2 separate regions of the Homo sapiens genome follow, and region 2 is linked to region 1. The links are contacts of gene promoters, found by promoter capture Hi-C in human tissues and cell types (Jung and others, 2019). All regions are on one chromosome and are shown on one strand. The core of a region is centred on a gene start or on the middle of the fragment in contact, and the rest is flanking DNA. Distances in the headings are between cores, read along the strand shown. Region 1 holds the start of NPBWR1 (neuropeptides B and W receptor 1). Region 2 has its middle 79 kb from the start of NPBWR1.

Evidence for each region. The method cuts DNA at HindIII sites, captures the fragments that hold promoters and counts their contacts. A contact is called where the count stands out against the background at its distance.
Region 2: a contact is called between a fragment that was not itself captured here and the fragment with the promoter of NPBWR1 in region 1, in 2 of the 25 tissues and cell types used here (pancreas and spleen).

Annotation. Positions count from the first base shown.
Region 1 is chr8:52,937,215-52,940,684 of GRCh38, reverse strand. It overlaps NPBWR1 (neuropeptides B and W receptor 1), which reads right to left and starts at 1,503. Exons shown (of 2, transcript NM_005285.5): 1 at 1,319-1,503; 2 at 1-974. The coding sequence starts at 777. RefSeq lists enhancers at 65-696, 697-1,328. The HindIII fragment of the contact is 16,506 bases long and covers 1-3,470 here.
Region 2 is chr8:52,858,237-52,861,706 of GRCh38, reverse strand. No RefSeq gene overlaps it. Among named protein-coding and RNA genes, the nearest start is that of NPBWR1, 79 kb to the left of the region's middle. The HindIII fragment of the contact is 5,247 bases long and covers 1-3,470 here.

The DNA of each region.
Region 1 (3,470 bases), core at 254-2,753:
CACCGCCAGGATTGCCACCACCAGGAAGGTCACCCGCTTCTTGGCGCGCTCCAGGGCCTTGGCGTGGCTGTCCAGCCGCATGGCATGCAGCCGGCACAGCAGGGTGGTATAGAGGACACAGATGGTGGACACGGGGATGGCGAAGCCCAGCACGAGCGTGTAGAGGCGGCTCGCGCGCCACCAGAAGGCCTCGGGCTGCGGAAAGACTAGCACGCACTGGCGCCGGCCCTGCTCGTCGTCTAGCCGGGCGAAGACTGCGAAGGGCAGCACGACGAGTGTGACGATCCCCCACACGGCCAGGCTCACCGCGCGCGCGGCGCTGTAGGTGCGGCCGGCCACCCGGCGCGACTCCGCAGTGGCCAACACCACCAGGTAGCGGTCGGCGCTCATGACGGTGAGGAAGTAGAGGCTGGAGAAGGTGTTGTACTGGTCGATAGCCACGATGAGCTTGCACATGAGCTCCCCGAAGGGCCACTGCCGCAGCAGGAAGTCGGCGATGTTGATGGGCAGCACCAGCGTGAAGAGCTCGTCGGCGATGGCCAGGTTGAGGATGAACAGGTTGGTGACGGTCTTCATGCGGGGCGCCCGCAGCAACACGTACAGCACGGCGGAGTTGCCCGCCAGACCCACGGCGCAGATCACCGCGTAGACAACTGGTACAGCCACCGCCAGCGGCGCCGGCAGCGGCGCCAGAGTCGACGCGTTGGAGCAGCTCAGCGCCGGGTCCGGGCCCGATGCGTTGGCGGGCCAGGGCTCCGAGAACGAGGCGTTGTCCATCTCAACGAGGGCAGAGGAGCCGGCGACCTGGCGTCCCCCAAGGACGCCCTACGGAGCTCAGCGGTCCTGAAGCCCGGTTCTGCACGGACCTGCTCGCGGACGCTCGTTTCAGCTCTCCAAGCCGTTCTCTGGTTTTTCCGGAGGAGGGGACCGTTCCCAGCCACCCCACGGCCCAATGTCGCCGCGGACTCACGGGGCTGGAAAGAGGAATTTAAAGCATAGGTTAGTTCGTCGACGTGTAACTTTAGAAATAGGCGCGGTCCCGAGGAGGGGTGGGGGTGGCGCCGCGGCGCCCCAAACCTCCTCCACGTGAGCGCTCTCTGCTACCTGTTGAAATCTCACTTCTACCAGTTGAATACATCAAACGAAATGCTAGAGAGAGAAGAATCCTCCATAGGAAAAATGCAAACCCTTCTCCCCTCTTTCAGGAAACTTCCGTAGACCCAGGTTACCCCACAGAATCCCGCAGTGGCAAGCTTCGGTCTCCCCAGGGTCTGTGCGCCCTCAGTAACAGCAAGCTCAACAGCAGTCTTTACCTTACCTGGCTGGCTGGGGAAGGGGTCTGCCTTTCCTGGAGCTGTCAGGAGAAAAGCCCGCCGGCTGCGGGGAGGCTGAGACGCCTGCCGGCTGGGTGTCCGCCTCCCCCTGTCTGCCTCCCCCGAGTTCGCCAGAGTCCGCAGCTCGCGTCCCCGCCGGTCCCTCCCGCGCGCCTGGAAGTGCAGGGATGGCGCAGCCGCGACTGCGTTCCACTGCCCTGACCGCCGCGCCCACCCCCACACCCCAAGTAAAATGGTCTTAGAACAGAGAACAGAAATTCCCCCAAATTTAAGGGATTCCTTTCTTCCATCCCAGTCGTGCAACCTCACTCCATCTGAAATAATAGAAAGCTCTCCTGTTAAGAATCGAATTTAAGGAAAACAAAGTTAGGGTGTAAGTGATCTATTTTTAAAGGAGAACAATGTAGTGGAGGCGCCTGTTCCATTTTTTATACACCGTAACACAAATAGGCTAATGTAATGTGAAATCTGAAAGGAGGAAAAAGTGAGTGCAATTTTATAATGCAAATCACCTGTTTTCTGCTACTCTGGTCTTCAAGGGGATAGAAGATTGTTAGTATGTTTTCTAAAACTACTTCTACTTCTACTTTTGTGTAAGTAAAGACTTGATTAGTAAAGACAAACGGCTTCCGCAAAGCCTTTTAGGGAACCATGACAATGCGTATTTCATAAAACGTTACAAGTTGTTCAACACACTCTCTACTTATCCACACACTTGCCCGATTCTCCTGCTAATGAGAGCTATCCTGCGATCGCAGCGGAGAGTAGCCAAGGAAGGACTAGCAGGGGCAGTCTTGAACTCCCCTGTCGCTATTTCCCTGGACTTTGGATTCTTTCTCTAGGAAGGGAAAATCATCTTAGGCTCCTCACCAGTTCCCCTAAGAATCGAATGAAATAAACTAAATATTGGTTATTTCCAATTTCTGCTTTTTTTTTTTCTCCACATTTCCTTTAGGAGAGAGAGCAAATTAAAACACGAGATTATATCCTCTAGTAAACTACCCTTCCACAAAAGCAGGCGAAGCCCAAATAAAGTGTATTTTTGGTCCTCTAGGATGCATCTTAGAGAAGGGGGCCTGAGATCCAGAGAGACCTAAAGTCGGCAGTAGAAGACTGTGGGGCCAGAAATACAGTAGCCCCCCCATACCTATGGGGGATAGGTTCCAAGAGCCCCAGTGGATGCCTGAAACCATGGATAGTACCCATTGCGGTCAATGGGAACATGTTTCTGTTCTTCCATCCAAAAATGATGCAACAGCAAAACTAGCATGCATTTCTTTTTTCTTCTTCACATTTTCGTGGATAGATTTGTTTTTAGTAGATCTTGGCAACCTCTGCATATGATTTTTTTTCTTTCCTTATTAAGTCCAGAATTTTTACCTTTTAACTTAAAGGAGGCATTTGCAGCTTCTCTTTGGCATATCTGAATTGCCAGCATCACTTCTCTTGCACTTTGGAGCCAGAGAGAAATAAGGGCAAAAAGTCAGTAAAATCAAGGCAACTTGAAGACACCACACTGGTCATTGCCACAGTCATCTAATAACCCAGATTGTGAAGTGACTAACAGGTGGATATTGTAGACAGCAGGGAAACGCTGGGCAAAGGGAGGACTCACTTTCTGTGGGAAGGAGTAAGATGGCTGGATCTCATCACGCCAATCAGAAGTCAACACAATTGAAAACCTAGGAACTGTTTATTCCTGGAATTTTCTGTTTAATATTTTTAGACCACAGTTGACCACGAGTAACTGAAACTAGGGACTCCAAAACCACTGACAGGGGGATCCACTGTCCAAAAGCTCCCTGGAATTTACCTACTCAATTATCTTTTTACCAGGATCTATACAAATCGGCTCCCCTGCAGTTTCACACTTTCTGTGAAACAAAATAACAGATGATTCTTAAGCTATGTCCGTAAGAAACACTATATGATAAAACACCATATAATGTTAAAGAAAAAATATATATAATAGAAAATCTCCAAACGGTTGAAGATGATCAACTATATACACATACGTGTATACATACACATATATACACACACGTGTATATACACACACATATATACACACGCATATATACACGCACATATACACACGTGTATATACAGACACATATGCACGTGTATATACACACA
Region 2 (3,470 bases), core at 502-3,001, 79 kb after region 1:
TTGTAAACTATAAACAGCTTAAGAAGAAAAAAATCCTTAAATCTGGGAAACAATACATTTAAATAAAGAACCAACCATGTTTTGAATAAAAATCATAAAAACATGATCTTGGTTAGGCACAGTGGCTCACGCCTATAATCCCAGCACTTTGGGAGGCTGAGGAGAGCAGATCACCTGAGGTCAGGAGTTCGAGACCAGCCTGGACAACATGGTGAAACTCCGTCTCTACTAAAAATACAAAAATTAGCCAGGCATGGTGGTGGATGCCTGTAATCCCAGCTACTCAGGACGCTGAGGAAGGAGAATCACTTGAACCCAGGAGGCGGAGTTTGCAGTGAGCTGAGATATTGCCACTGCACTCCAGCCTGGGTGACAGAGCAAAACTCCATCTCAAAAAAAAAAAAAAACAAGATCTTAATCAGTTATTTGATTTCATGTAATTAAATTTTATTTTGCTTGATCAGTTTCTATATTACAGTTCTGAATATTTTTATTTCATCCATTGATCTTAACATTACCAGAAATCGGTGTTCGAGGGTACTTGTTAGACTTCTCCATGAAAAGCAATTTTGGACTATAGCTGATTACAAAGCCATTTAAAGAAGAATTCAAAACAGTAACTGTGGATAACAATAACTGAAGATACTATGATAAAAAAACTGATCAAAGTTCACACTTACAATGAAATTTAGTTATTTTTATTACCTGTGGCATAAAGATAATCAGAATTATGACTGACAATGTCACATTAGGACCATCAGACTTATACATTTTATGTAATCTTTAGGATATTCACATAAATAACATATCCATAAAAATATCATTTTGAAAAAAGATTTAACATTAACAACTAAAATTATGACTGATAACATATTAGATTTTTATGAATTTATATAAAAATTTTTGAAACATTATATCAGTAATATATCCATAAGTGTAACTGAAAGAAGATCTAGTATCGCTTATCATTTGACAATGCTTCCCATACAATTTACCAAATAAGTCTAATCATTTAATATCGCTGCAAAATGAGAGACACATTCTTTGAGGCTCTCCAGGGGCCCAAAGTTAATTTTAGGTGTAACAGGCTTCACTTAGAATTTTAATCCTGGAGAAGCTTTCCAAAGATGTCAAAGGGTTCAAAATACTTCATCCAAATATACTTAGATCTAAATGTAAGTATTAATAGATCTAAATATATTTAGTCTTTATATAAAATCTCAGGGACAAAAATCAAACTTATTTATGATCACCAATTTGTTTTCGTTTTTATCTTATTTCGAAATGACCTAGACATTTAATGAGTATTTATTACGTAATTTAACGCAACAGAGCTTTAAATTTTTTAATTACATAAAAAGTTTACTTATAAATGCTTATACCATTTACATTTACCTGATTTATTTATTTTTAATAGTTTACCTAGATTACTTGTGGAAACTGAGATATTAAACAAAGCTAGTCATCGTTTGGAATTATTTCTGTTAACCATCTTTAGAGCCTGTGAATATCAGGTGTTCATCTAAGTAAAAACTTTAAAGTTAAATAGATGGACATTTTGCCAATAACTCGGAAGATACAGTTGTTTTCATTAAAACAACAATATTAAATTAGTCTTAAGTATCAAAAAAATTGCAAAAGGAAAGGTCATTCTGTTTAGGCTGGGTTTACAGTTTCATCATCTGTGTGTCAACATCCAACAGAAACTAATATAAAGCCACATGACCAGCAAAACTGTATGCAGACAATTCTGAAGATATTTCTATCTTGTTAATAATTTTAAAGCCAGCTTAAGTCACGTAAGCTAAAGAGCCATTTTGGGTTAATTACTATATATTTTATATGAGTATTTATTTACCTAAGCCAATCTAAATAAAATTCCTAGAGCATTTCTGGCTGTGCCAGATTTTACCATGTAGATACAACACATAACATAACACATGTATATGTGCATAAACACACCTAAACATTTATACATATGCACAAAGATCTTATACCTTTAATTTTAGAATTTTAGTCATGAAATCACAATACCAACTCTATAGTTAGAAGTTTTTTAGAGAATTTGAATAATGGCCATTTGAGCTCTGAATTTTTCTTGATGTAATTTTGCCCATCAGTTTTAAAATGGGAAGAACAGGCCATAATATGTAGCTGGCTGGAGTCCCAGGAAACCTGGCATGCCTTAATGTTTGAGAATCCCATTCCATTTCTTATTAACTTCACAAAAGCAAAGAAAATCCTATAAATCCTGTCAGAGGACCTCAGGAGTTTGGACCAGTGTTTTAGAGGGAGTCAACCACCTAGTGGCTTTTAATTAGCCATCTTGTGCCCACCATTTACTATGTTTATGATTACTCTCAGAAAATTTGTGGAAACAAGCAAAGGAGAAGAGTCAAACCAAATCAAAAGAAACCAAGATAATAGTGTTCACAAAAATGTTAACCCAGGCTTTCAAATTAACCAAAATTTTAATCTAGGTACATAACCAAAAGTGAATTCACCAGAAATGCCATGCCTCACAGACAAAATGTAAATTATAGAAACAAGAGTGCTCAACCCAGAGGACACTTGTCTTTATATCAGAAAAGACTTACCAGAAAAGACAAAAAGTCTTTTATCATCCCAGGAGGAATGTATGGTTCTTTAGTAAGGTGGCCTCATGCAGACAAAGTCAAGAGCTTCTACCCAAAAGAGGACTCCTCGGCTGAGAGAAGACTCTCCAGGACAGGAAAGGTGAGCCATGGAAGCAGAGAGCCATGGAAGCAGAGAGGCTCAAGTACTGCAAACTGGTTCCAAGAATCTCTGACTCATCCAAATGGGATCCTACTCTAGGTCCCACTTCTGAACACCATTTATGTCAACATAAATAACAAACAGAGAGATGCTTTCTGAAAGAAAATGATGTTTATTTGGGACTAGAGCCTTGTGATGGGAATACAGTTACCATAGTTAACTATGTGTGTATTCAGGGAAGTAAAGAATGACAAAGGTTTTTAAAGGAAAAATGAGGAGAATAACATAATTGTTTTGAAATGATTATTCTTGCTATAAAGATCAATAACAATGGTAATGCCAGTCCAAGGTTGGACTTTTTTTTTTAACATGAGTAACTCCATTTTGATTCTGACAATGTTCACAGTCTATACAATGGAAATACCAGTCAGCAACAAAAAGGAACAAACTGTTGATAGATTCTACAACCTGGATGAATCTACAAAATTTATGCTGAGTAAGGAGCCAGTCTCCAAAGGTTACATACTGTATGATTCCATATGTAACATACTTGAAATGAGAAAACTATAGAACTGATTACTGGTTGACAAACATTTTAAAAAGAGGGGGAGGCTGGGAGCAGATGGGAAGTAGGTGTGGCTATAAAAGGGGAACTTGGGGCCGGGAGCGATGGCTCATGCCTGTAATCCCAACACTTTGGGAGACCGAGGCAGGTGGATCATGAGGTCTGGAGA